Regions from separate parts of the Homo sapiens genome. Here region 1 is linked to region 2. Evidence: promoter capture Hi-C in human tissues and cell types (Jung and others, 2019). All regions are on one chromosome and are shown on one strand. The core of a region is centred on a gene start or on the middle of the fragment in contact, and the rest is flanking DNA. Distances in the headings are between cores, read along the strand shown.

What was found. Contacts are between HindIII fragments. The study calls those that stand out against the background at their distance.
Region 1: the fragment with the promoter of LMAN1L here is called in contact with a fragment that was not itself captured in region 2 in 1 of the 25 tissues and cell types used here (dorsolateral prefrontal cortex).

What each region holds. Positions count from the first base shown.
Region 1 is chr15:74,810,404-74,816,813 of GRCh38, reverse strand. LMAN1L (lectin, mannose binding 1 like) reads right to left here and starts at 3,979. Exons shown (of 14, transcript NM_021819.3): 1 at 3,785-3,979; 2 at 503-657; 3 at 280-387; 4 at 124-182. The coding sequence starts at 3,959. The HindIII fragment of the contact is 6,905 bases long and covers 1-6,088 here.
Region 2 is chr15:75,440,605-75,447,546 of GRCh38, reverse strand. The region is part of intron 1 of SIN3A (SIN3 transcription regulator family member A); the gene reads left to right. Among named protein-coding and RNA genes, the nearest start is that of SIN3A, 7.6 kb to the left of the region's middle. RefSeq lists a silencer at 6,395-6,544. The HindIII fragment of the contact is 9,103 bases long and covers 176-6,942 here.

The sequences.
Region 1 (6,410 bases), core at 2,730-5,229, 630 kb after region 2:
GTATGGCGGCCCGGCAGGGTGGGCCCCCTGCTGGAGGAGGCTGGGGCAGGGGCTCGGATGGGGGGGATGGGCCCCTCCCAGTGCAAAAATGGAGGTGAGTGGTCAGTCCAGACAGGCCCTTACCCAGGCTGCTCAGAGGGGATGTGCCCGTCGCTGGCCAGCACACGGATGGCAGGACTGTCCTGCAGGGAGGTGAGAAGCAGCCTGAGCCGCGGACATGGCGGGAGGGGGAGGGTGTGAGCGGGCAGGCGGGCTGGCAGGCAGGAGACCACTACGCACCTGAGTATCCTCTGCCGGAGAGTCAAAGAAGATCCCGATGCCGTCCCACGAAGCCAGCCCCCCAAGGACAGAGCCTACATGGCCCCTGCCCCGGGTGTACCACACGGCCTGCAGGTCCCCAGCCCCTCAGCTCAGGGAACCGTGTGGGATACTGGGACCCCGGGGCTCATCACCCGCCTCCCTGACCCACCCCGCTCTGTCAGCTCTGGGAGAGGACACTCACCATGCCCTGGGCTCCCCGGCGCCCCAGTCCCGTCACCCTCATCTGCACCTCTACTTCCCAGGCAGAGAAGGGGACAGAGGCCCTGCTCCACACGGCGCCACTCCGGTTCCTCATGGATGGCGTCAGCCGCACTTCCTCCAGGCCCAGGATGGCGTCTGTGGACAAGGGCAGCTCAAGCCCCAGGCTCCACTACACCCCATCTCCCCCTTCACTCTCTCACTTGGCCCGGGCTGGGCTCCCGGAAGAGAAGGCGACAATGCCAAGGCCTACCATTAAATAAGCGGCCAGCCAGGGAAGCAGGAGTCAGAGCCCAGCACAGCTGGAGGGGCCTTTGCTGGGGAGGGCAATGAATGCCAGCACCATCCACGTCGTCAGTGAAGCCTCACCGCAGTGTGTGCTGTCTGTTTTTATAAGACCCCATCTAACAGATGAGGAAGGTGAGGCTCATAAAAGTTAAGGAACTAAGTGGATTGGATGGAATTCAGCTCCATATGACTCCAAAGCACAAGCTTTTTCCACCACGAGAGAGATTTGTGTCTAACCCTTCCCATTTCTCAGATGACGAAACTGAGGCCTTGTGACAAAAAAGGAAGTGCCTGAGACCACAGAACACAGGAGAGCACTTTAGGAGGGAGTAACTGCAAGAAGGCCCAAGACTCTAGGCTGTGGCCAAATGAGGCCAGAGCTTCCTGGTGGACAGGACCTAGGGGGCATTCCAAGGTGAGGAAAGCAGGAAAGCAAAGATGTGAAGGTGAGAACCGGCCCACAGGACTGCGATGAAAGAATGCAGGATGGAGTATGTGTGTGAGAATTGCCACTGGCGGTGGTGGGGCGGGGAGGAAGGAGCCCTGCATGGTAGGAAAAAGGAATGGGAGAGAAACTGAGGCAGTCTTGGCAGGAACTGGGGGCAGGGAACTCAGAGGCCCTACTCGAGCTCGCTCCCCACCCTCCAACCTGCCAGCCTGGAACCTGGCCCAGGGCCCAGACTCTGCCAGGACGTTCTGGAGGCAGCTAATCCAGCCTGTTTGCTCTATAAAGGCCAGGGATGGGGGTAGGGAGGCTCAGAGCTGCAAGGCCACAAGTCCCAGGGCCTCTGGAAGCTGTCACTGCCTCTGAAATCCTTGCAGAAGGCTTTCAGCCTTACAAGGCCTGTGGGTGAGACCTTGCCCCAGACCATGGGCTCCTTCAGCCTCACTCTGCCTGGTATCTCTGGGCTGGGCACAGAGGAACATCAGGGTGAACGAATGAATGAACAGACAATGCACACATCACTGGGTGATCTTGGAGAAGGTGCCTCTGCTCCCTCACATGATCTGTGACACCCAGATTTGGCAAGGCCCATAGCAGTGAGTGTTGTATAAGTTTTGCCATCCTGGTCCTGAAGCAGGGCCCAGCTTGGTGCTGTGAGAAACAGCCCACCTTTTTGTTACCTCCTGTGTCTCTATGAAGGAGGACTGGAAGAAACCCTACTGACAGGGCCTATCATCTTAAAGGAATATTTTGGGCTGGGCGCGGTGGCTCATGCCTATAATCCCAGCACTTTGGGAAGCCGAGGCAGGCGGATCATCTGAGGTCAGTAGTTCAAGACCAGCCTGGCCAACATGGTGACAACCCGTCTCTACTTAAAAAATACAAAAATTAGGCTGGGCGCGGTGGCTCGCCTGTAATCCCAGCACTTTGGGAGGCCAAGGCGGGCGGATCACGAGGTCAGGAGATCGAAACCATCCTGGCTAACAAGGTGAAACCCCATCTCTACTAAAAGTACAAAAAATTAGCTGGGGGTGGTGGCAGGCACCTGTAGTCCCAGCTACTCGGGAGACTGAGGCAGGAGAATGGCATGAACCCAGGAGGTGGAGCTTGCAGTGAGCCGAGATCACGCCACTGCACTCCAGCCTGGGCAACAGAACGAGACTCCGTCTCAAAAAAAAAAAAACAAAAACAAAAACAAAAATTAGCTGCGTGTGGTGGCACACACCTGTAATCCCAGCTACTCAGGAGGCTGAGGCAGGAGAATCACTTGAATCTGGGAGGTGAAGGTTGCAGTGAGCCAAGATCACACCACTGCACTCCAGCCTGGGCAACAAGAGTGAAACTCCATCTCACAAAAAAAAAAGGGATATTTTGTCCTGGCTTTAGTTAGGAATCGTGCCATTTCTCAGAACTCACATCTTTTTTTTTTTTTTTTTTGAGCCAGAGTCTGGCTCTGTGCCCAGGCTGAAGTGCAATGGCAGGATCTCAGCTCACTGCAACCTTGGCCTCCCAGGTTCAAGCAATTCTCCTGCCTCAGCCTCCTGAGGAGCTGGGACTACAGGCGCACGCCACCACACCCAGCTAATTTTTGTATTTTTAGTAGAGTCAGGGTTTCACCATTTTGGCCAGGATGGTTTTCAACCTCTTGACCTCGTGATTCATCCGCCTTGGCCTCCCAAAGTGCTGGGATTACAGGCGTGAGCCACTGCACCTGGCCAAGAACTCACATTTTATAGACAGAAATCCACAGCCGATCTGCTTTCTGTCTTTGCTTTGCCTGCTAAGAGGCTCAGAATTAAATCCATGGCCCAACTCTCAGGTGGACAGACCTCACAGCATATGTTTTGGAAGCCATGCTCCTAGACTATTTCACGCTCCACTCTAATCCTCATTGTTCTTGCTCACTCCCTCTATCGTGTAGTTCCATCATCACAAACCCTTTTTTGAACAAGATCTGGTAGAAGACACACTCTTTGTAGGTCTGGGTTTGGAAGTCCCTGAATACAAACCTATGGGCTAAGATGCTCTCATGCCTGCTTCCACCCACAACACACATACAGGGAAGGGCTGGTGCCCACTCACCTGGGATGAGGATGCTTCCCTCCAGGTAGCCCCCAGTTCTCATGGCCAGCCACAGGCCCGCTGGGATGGAGCCGGGAGAGTGGAGGTTTGTGCTGGTCCACATTGCCTTCTGTGTGCCTGGGACTTAGTGTGTGAGCATGTGTCTGTGTGTTCACAGGTCAGAGGTAGAGGAAGGGCAGGGGTCCAAGGAGAGGCAGAGGAGAAGAGAGAAGTCCTGGGGCAGGGAAGCAGAGAGGCAGAGGAGAAACAGCTTGGGCAGGGGTGGGGGGTGTTGAGGCGGTGGAGCAGGAGACAAGCCTGGAAGGGGTCCTGGGGTGCCTGGCACTGTCCCAGGCCTTGCCCCACCCTGGACAGAGGATGGCTGTGACAGACCCACTCCCCACCAAGTCACAGCCCCTCCAGCACTTTGAGGGACCCTGGGCATAGCTGGTCCCCACCCCTGCCCCTCACCTCCATGATGGCTCCAGAAGGGTATTCCAGCCCCAGGCAATGCCAGCCTTGGGCCTTTGAAGCTGAGCTTGTACTCAAACCTGCGTAGAGGAGGACACCCCGTCTCAGGGCTGTGGGGGTCCAGGAGCAGGAGGAGAAGGCAGAATAAGGGACCTGGACCACTGACCGCCGGCATCGTGAAGGCGCCTGAAGTCTGGGCCCCGGGGTAGATCATAGCTGGGAGGCCGGGGAGGGGATCCTGGGATAGGGCCAGGCAGGGAGGAGCTGGGGACTGGCCAGGAGCTGGGTTTTGGCACTGTCCTCTCCCTCTATCTCCAGCATAGACATCCTGTTCCTTCCAGGCCTGCTGTCAGGCCCCGCCCATCCCTCACCTCCAGTCTGACGTGGGCAGCGGGACCCCACGACAACCTGAGCTCTGCCCCTGCTCCTGACTCAGGCCATCTTTCTGTCTCCCATCACTTCCAGCAGTTGGATGCGGCAGAGGGGAAGGGGGGGTGCCCAGGGTTGGCCCCCACCCTTCAGCAGCCCTGGCCTCCCCTCCCAGTTAGGGAGACAGGCCTCCACATTCTGCCTGTGTCCCCCAGCATGGATGGCACATCTATCTGGACACCCATCCTTCTCTCCTCCCTGCCCCCTCTCTCCCTCTCCCGAATTCCCCCAGGCTCATCCTTCCAAGCAGCCTGGTTTCCTCAACAAAAGCATTACATGGAAAAAAGAAGGGAGTCTTTAGAGACAGCACAAAAACGCAACGTGCAGACCTTGTTTGGAGCCAAATTTTAACCCAACTGCAAAAAAAAAAAAAGATATTGGGGAAATTTGAACAATGGATATTTTTGAACAATGGATATTTGACTATATTGAGGAATTGTTAAAAATTTTAGGGCACTGTGGCTCATGTCTGTAATCTTAGCACTTTGGGAGCCCAAGGCAGGTGGATCACCTGAGGTCAGGAGTTCGAGACCAGCCTGGCCAACATTGTGAAACTCTGTCTCTACTAAAAAAAAATACAAAAAATTAGCCAGGCCTGGTGGTGCATGCCTGTAATCCCAGCTACTTGGGAGGCTGAGGCAGGAGAATCACTTGAACCTGGGAGGCAGAGATTGTAGTGAGCGGAGATTGCACCATTGCACTCCAGCCTGGGTGATAAGAGCAAAAATCCATTTCGAAAAAAAAAATTGAGAACTAATATGGTATTGTGGTTATGTTTTTTATTTTTTATTTTATTTTATTTATTTATTTTTTGAGACGGAGTCTCGCTCTATCGCCCGGGCTGGAGTGCAGTGGCGCGATCTTGGCTCACTGCAAGCTCTGCCTCCCGGGTTCACACCATTCTTCTGCCTCAGCCTCCCAAGTAGCTGGGACTACAGGTGCCCGCCACCATGCCTGGCTAATTTTTTGTATTTTTTAGTAGAGATGGGATTTCACCGTGTTAACCAGGGTGGTCTCGATCTTCTGACCTCGTGATCCGCCTGACTTGGCCTCCCAAAGTGTTGGGATTACAGGCGTGAGCCACTGCGCCTGGCCTTTTTTTTTTTTTTTGAGAGGTGGTGTCTTCCTATGTTACCAAGGATGGACTCAAACTTCTGGGCTCAAAGGATCCTCCTGCCTCCTGAATAGCTGGAAATAAAGGCATGAGCCACCACGCCTGGCTTGTGGTTATGTTTTTAAAGTGTCTTTTGGAGAAACATACAAAAGCTTTACAGATGAATTGCTGTAACATCGGGGATTTGCTTCAAAATATTCCAGGGCTTGTTGGTGAGCAGGTGGGGTAGAGATGAGACAGAATTGACCTTGAGTTGGTAAGTGCTGAAGCTGGATGGCGGGATGCAGGGGTTCCTTATATCTTCTACTTTTATTATTTTTTGAAACAGGGTCTCACTGTCACCCAGACTGAAGTGCAATGGCAGGATTGTAGAGGAGCTGGGACTACAGGCACACACTACCGTGCCTTGCTAGCTAATTTTTTTTTTTTTTTTTTTTTGAGACGAAGTCTCACTCTGTCACCCAGGCTGGAGTGCAGTGGCGGGATCTCGGTTGACTGCAACCTCCTCCTCTCAGGTTCAAGCGATTCTCCTGCCTCAGCCTCCTGAGTAGCTGGGATTACAGGCACCCACCAACCCACCACCATGCCCGGCTAATTTTTGTATTTTTTTTTTTTTTTTTTGAGATGGAGTCTCCCTCTGTTGCCCAGGCTGGAGTGCAGTGGCACAGTCTCCGCTCACTGCAAGCTCTGCCCCCACCGGGTTCATGCCATTCTCCTGCCTCAGCCTCCAGAGTAGCCGGGACTACTAGGCGCCTGCCACCACGCCCAGCTAATTTTTTTGTATTTTTAGTAGAGACAGCATTTCACAGTGTTTGCCAGGTTGGTCTTGATCTCCTGACCTCGTGATCCACCCGCCTCAGCCACCCAAAGTGCTGGGATTACAGGTGTGAGCCACCGCGCCTGGCCAATTTTTGTATTTTTAGTAGAGACAGGGTTTCACCATTTTGGATCAGGCTGGTCTCGAACTCCTCACCTCAGGTGATCCGTCCACCTCAGCCTCTCAAAGTGCTGGGATTACAGGCATGAGCCACAGCGCCCAGCCCCCAGCTAATTTTTTAATTTTTATTTTTGTAGAGATGGGGG
Region 2 (6,942 bases), core at 3,478-5,977:
GGGAGAGAGAGATGATACAGTATATGTACCATATTACCTTTCTAAAATCCAAACAATGCTGATGACTCTAACGGGGATCTCTCCCTCTACCATAGACTAATATGTTTAGTGGCCCACTCAAGGTCTCCACTCGATGTCTCCTCTTGGATAACTAAGAGACATTGTTGACTCTTCTGTGTCTTTTTCATATGTGGTCCATCAGTAAATTTTACTGCTTTATATTCAAAATACTATCCAGAATTAGACCACTTAGGATCTGCATCTCCACTGCCCTAGTCAGTGCCTGTGCATCTCTAGCTTGGATTCTATTCTCCTTGTTTTGTTACTGCGGCTCTTAAATGTGTTCTCAACATAGCAACCCAAGTGATTCTTTTGAAACCTAAGTCATACCGTGTCACTTCTCTGCTTAAAACCATCCAGTGGCTTTCCATTTCAGTCTGAGTATTAAACCTGAGTCCTTATTTAGATATGTCTGTAATGAGCTGGGCGCGGTGGCCCATGCCTGTAATACCAGCACTTTGGGAGGCTGAGGCAGGCGGATCACGAGGTCAGGAGATTGAGACCATCCTGGCTAACATGGTCTCCACTAAAAAAAATACAAAAGAGTTAGCCGGGCATGGTGGCACACGCACCTGTAGTCCCAGCTACTCGGGAGGTTGAGGCAGGAGAATGGTGTGAACCCGGGAGGTGGAGCTTGCAGTGAGCCAAGATCGTGCCACTGCACTCTAGCCTGGGCGACAGAGCGAGACTGTCTCAAAAGAAAAAAAAAAGGATATGTCTGTAATTTCACCATTTTGGGAGCTCAAGTGGGAGGATCGTTTGAGTCCAGGAGTTTGAGACCAGCTTGGGCATCATAACAAGACCCTGTCTCTATAAAAAAATTAAAAATTAGCCAAGCATGCTGGCGCGTGCCTGTAGTCCCAGTTACTTGAGAGGCTGAGGCAGGAGGATTGCTTGAGCTCAGGAGCTTGAGGCTGCAGTGAGCCATGACTGTGCCACTGCACCCCAGCCTTGACGACAAAATGAGACCCTGTGTCAAAAAATAAAAAAACACCTGTAAGAACAAATCTGATGTACCCTCTGCCTGCCACCCTTATCCTAGTACCTCTCTGACTACATTTCTGACTAGTCCTTCTTTCGTTTTTCTTCAGCTACCCAGCCTTCATGCTGTTTTGGAACATGTCAAGCACATGTGAGCCCTCACAAAGACATGAGGGTCTTTGCGGTTGCTGTCCCCTCTGCCTAGAAGGCTTCCTCCACTAATTTCTGCATGACTAGCTCCCTCACTTCCTTTACTCAGAAGTTACCTTATCAGTAGGTATTATCTGACCATTCTTATCTACAATTTCAAAAACTCTTCCTTGCCTTTTGTTCTTGATACCTGTCACTGCCTACTATTCTAAATATTATACTTTGTCTATTGTGTCATCTTTCACTAAAATATAAGCTTCTTGAGGGAAGAGATTTTTGTTTACCGTTGTATCTCCAGCTCCTAAAACACCTGGTGCATAGTATGTGCTCAGTAGATATTAGAGAATGTATACATGAATGAATGATTTGGTTTCCACCACAGACAAGACAAAGCAGTATGCTGAGCATGGTAGAGGATACATAGATGGTTAAAGATGTTATGTGCCCATGTTTGTGTGGGAGCAGAAGAGCTAATGTGATAAAAGCAGTGTGAGATGTGAGTGACACTTCCACCTGTCCTTTCAAGAACTATCTCAAGTTCTATTCTTTGTAATGCTCTATTTTCTTTTCTTTCTTTCTTTTTTTTTTTTTTTTTTCTTTTTTTTGAGACAAGGTCTCACTGTGTTGCCCAGGCTAGAGTGCAGTGGTACTATCTCGGCTCATTGCACACACACACATACACACACCCAGCTTCAAGTGATTCTCCTGCCTCAGCCTCCCGAGCAGCTGGGATTACAGGCATGCGCCACTACACCCAGCTATTTATTTATTTATTTATTTATTTTGAGACGGAGTTTTGCTCTGTCTCCCAGGCTGGAGTGCAGTGGTGCAATCTCGGCTTGGCACAATCTCAGCTCACTGCAACCTCCACCTCCTGGGTTCAAGTGATTCTTCTGCCTTAGCCTCCCGAGTAGCTGGGATTACAGGCACCCACCACCATGCCTGGCTAATTTTTTTTTTTTTTTTTTTTTTTTTGAGACAGTGTCTCGCTCTGTCGCCCAGGCTGGAGTACAGTAGCGCGATCTCAGCTCACTGCAATCTCCCCTTCCCAGGTTCAAGCAGTTCTCCTGTCTCAGCCTCCTGAGTAGCTGGGATCACAGGCGCCACCACCATGCCTGGCTAATTTTTTGTATTTTTAGTAGAGACAGGGTTTTACCACGTTGACCAGCCTTGTCTTGAACTCCTGGCCTCAGGCAATCCACCTGCCTTGGCCTCCCGAAGTGCTGGGATTACAGGCATGAGCCACTGCACCTGGCCTTATAGATATTTTGAAAGATTATATTTCTTATATTAAATAGAGATAGGGTCTTACCATGTTGCTCAGGCTGGTCTTCCTGGACTCAAGCAATCCACCTGCCTCAGACACCCAAAGTGCTGAGATTACAGGTGTTAGCCACCATGCCTGGCCTAATACTTAATTTTTAAAAAACTTTTTCTTTGGAAATAATTTTAGACTTCAAAGAGAGTTGCAAAAATAATACAAATAATAGCCCTATAATCTTCACCTAGATTCCCCAAGTGCATCTTTTAAAACCACAATACAGTGATCAAATCAGAAAATCAACATTGATAACAATTATTAATACATTTTGAATTTAACTAAATTTCTGTTCATTTTCTACCTACAGTAGTAAGAAATGTCTGGGTAACATCAGTGTCACCGAAGTCTGTATTGCCCAGATTGGTCTCAAACTCCTGGGCTCAAGCAGTCTGCCCACCTCGGCCTCCCAAAGTGCTGGGATTACAGGCCTGAGCCACTGCACCTGGTCTGGACTCAATTTTAGTTTTTGAGTTTTGCTTTTTTTTTTTAAAGCAGTACTAACTACTTGTAAAGATGTATATTTCATGACTTTTATTTATTGGAGGTCTTCAAAACAGCAAAGAGAAAATTTATTTTTATTTTTAATTTTATTTTTGAGATGCGGTCTTGTTCCATCCCCAGGCTGGAGTGCAGTAGCGCGATCTTGGCTCACTGCAACCTCCGCCTCCTGGGTTCAACTGGTTCTCCTGCCTCAACCTCCCGAGTAGCTGGGATTACAGGTGTGTACCACCATACCCAGCTAATTTTTGTATTTTTAGTAGAAATGGGGTTTCACCATATTGGCCAGGCTGGCCTCAAACTTCTTATCTCTCGAAGTGCTGCGATTACAGGCATGAGTCACCATGCCCAGCCTGAAAATTTATTTTTTTTCCAAAGGAATAAACTCATTTTAGCTATTACCACTTGTACATCGAAACAATGTTGTGGAGTTTTACTGATCTTATTTTTCCTGTATATTGAAATGTTTTGGTATTTCATCATCCTAGGAATTATTTCATCATTACTCATCAATTCTCAAATATGCTAAAGAGGACTAAAATAATATGACAAAGGGAGAATTATAGAATTGCTTAAAAGGATATGCAGTAGTGAAATAAATCATTAGTTTTACACTTCAGTTTTTAGAGATGGGGCCTCGCTTTGTTGCCCAGGCCGAAGGGCAGTGGTATGATCATAGCTCTCTGCAGCCTCAAACTTCTGGGCTCAAGTGATCATCCCTCCTAAGCATCCTCGGTAGCTGGGACTATAGGTGTGCACCGCAGCCCTTCAGTTTTCTTATTGCTTTTCCCAAAACTTACAGCAACTTTTTTTTTCTTTTTGGATACAGGGTCTCACTCTGTCACCCAGGCTGGAGTGCAGTGGCGCAATCTCAGTTCACTGCAACCTTCGCCTCCCAGACTCAAGCAATCTCACCTCAGCCCTCCAAGTAGCTGGGACTACAGGCATGTGCCACCACACCTGGCTAATTTTTGTATTTTTTTTGTAGAGAGAACGTTTCGCCATGTTGTCTAGGCTAGTCTCGAACTCCTGGGCTCAAACAATCCACCCACCTTAGCCTCCCAAAGTGCTGGGATTCCAGGCATGAGCCAGCATGCCCAGCCTACAGCATCTTTCAAGAAAGTATAAAAGAAGTTGGGAGATACCATCTTAAACATTATGTAAGATGTTAACATTTGGAGAATCTAGGTGAAGGAGTACATGGTAATTTTTATACTATTTTTCAACTTTTAAGCTTTCATTGGACATATTTAAAAATCCATAGTTTTTCATCTTCCTCCTATAATGGCAAAGAGAAGAAAACTGACTACAGAAGACATTTCAGAGGAACTAGTAGATGAATGCTGTGTGACAGTAGTACTCTAGACTGTTAGGATGACGGTAAAGTTATATAAACCAAGTTGTAAAATAAGAGTCTTCAGCCAGGCATGGTGGCGTGCACCTGTAATCCTAGCATCTCGGGAGGCTGAGATGGGAGGATCACTTGAGCCCAGTACTTCAAAACCAGGCTGGGCAACATAGCAAGATTCTGTCTCCACCCATATACATATGTGACTGTACCCTAGATGAGTTTAGAATGTGATTTTTTTTTTTTTTTTTTTTTTGAGACAGAGTTTTGCTCTTATTGCCCAGGCTAGAGTGCCATGGCACAATCTCGGCTCACCGCAACCTCCGCCTCCTGGGTTCAAGGGATTCTCCTGCCTTAGCCTCCCAAGTAGCTGGGATTACAGGCATGTACCACCATGCCTGGCTAATTTTTTGTATTTTTAGTAAAAGATGGGGTTTCTCCATGTTGGTCAGGCTGGTCTTGAACTCCCAACCTCAGGTGATCCACCTGCCTTGGCCTCCCAAAGTGCTGGGATTACAGTCGTGAGCCACCATGCCCAGCGGTGAATTTTTTTTTTTTTTTTTTTTTTTTTAAAGATGGGATCTATCTCACTATGTTGCCCAGGCTGGATTTAAATTCCTGAGCTCAAGCTGTTCTCCTGCTTCAGTTCCCCCAAGTAACTGGCACTATAGGCATCCAGCTAGAATGTGATTTTCTTTTTATAAGAATCAGAACTGGGCTGGGTGCAGTGGCATATGCCTGCAATCCCACCTTCTTGGGAGGCTGAGGTGGGAGGATCGCTTGAGCCCAGACGTTCGAGACCAGCCTGGGCAACATAGTGAGACCCCATTTCTATTTTTAAGAAATGAAAAAAAAAAACAATCAAAACCACTGCACTTTGCCAAAAAGATGTATGATAGTATTCTTTCATCTTTCAAGATATTTGTACACCAAAACTTAGTTGATGCAGTTTGTAAGTGGACAGGTGCCAAAGTTACGTATATGTATAAAGATGGTTAGAAGGAAAAATTATGTAAAAATGAAAAAAAAAATCAGTTTTTTTTTTTTTTTTTTTTTTTTTTTTTTTTTGAGACAGAGTCTCACTCTTGTTACCCAGGCTGGAGTGCAGTGGCATGGTCTTTGCTCACTGCAACCTCTGCCTCCTGGGTTCAAGCGATTCTCCTGCCTCAGCCTCCCGAGTAGCTGGGACTACGGGTGCGTGCCACTGCACCCAGCTAATTTTTTGTAGTTTTGGTACAGATGGGGTTTCACCGTTTTAGCCAGGATGGTCTCAATCTCCTGACCTCGTGATCCACCCGCCTCGGCCTCTGAGAGTGCTGGGATTAGAGGCAAGAGCCACACGCTCAGCCTGGATTGTTCATTCTGATTGACATTTATTAGTCTAAAAATGAGAATGCTTATGATTATGGAGCAAAGAAGATGACTGTTCTCTCCAACAAAATTATGAAGTGAGTTTTCAAAGTATTTCATTTGATGGGCAGAAAGGGAAAAAAAGACCCAGAGGTGATAAGCTAGAACCTTACTAGAGCTGTACCTGAAACCTGGAATCAAAATTTACAAAATGGAAGCCAAGCGTGGTGGTGTGTACCTGTTTACAGAGTGGAAGCCAAGTGTAGTGGTATACACCAGCTACTCGGGAGGCTGAGGCAGGAGGATCGCTTGTGGCCAGGAGTTCAAGACCGGCCTGTGCAATGTAGGGAGACCCTGTCTCTAAAAAAAATTTTTTTCTTATTAGCCACTCTGTAGTCCCAGCTACTTAGGAAGCTGAGGTGGGAGGATTGTTTGAGCCCAGCAGTCTGTAATGAGCTATGATCATGCCACTGTACTCTAGCCTGGGCAATAGAGCAAGACCCTGTTTTTTTTTTATTTTGTTTTTTGTTTTTTTGAGACGGAGTCTGGCTCTGTTGCCCACGCTGGAGTGTAGTGGCGAGATCTCGGTCAACCTCCACCTCCCAAGTTCAAGCAATTCTACTGACTCAGCTTCCTGAGTAGCTGGGATTATAGGCACACGCCACCATGCCCGGCTAATTTTTTTGTATTTTTAGTAGAGATGGGGTTTCACCATGTTGGCTAGGCTGGTCTTGAGCTCCTCACCTCACGTGATCTACCCGACTTGGCCTCCCAAAGTACTGAGATTACAGGCGTGAGCCACTGCACCTGGCCAACCCTGTTTCTTTTTCTTGTTCTTTTTTTTTTTTTTTTTTTTGAGACAGAGTCTTCGCTCTGTCACCCAGGCTGGAGTGCAGTGGCGCGATCTCAGCTCACTGCAAGCTCTGCCTTCCAGGTTCACGCCATTCTCCTGCCTCAGCCTCCCGAGCAGCTGGGACTACAGGCGCCTGCCACCACGCCTGGCTAATTTTTTGTATTTTTGGTAAAGACGGGGCTTCACCTTGTTAGCCAGGATGGTCTCGATCTCCTGACCTCGTAATCCGCCTGCCTTGGCCTTCCAAAGTGCTGGGATTACAGGCATGAGCCACCGCGCCCGACCCCTTGTTTCTTAAAAGAAACAAAAAATTTATAGAATGGCTGTGTTCCAAGTTCATGCATGACATTTGATGAGTACTTGGTTGCATTTTAAAGGATG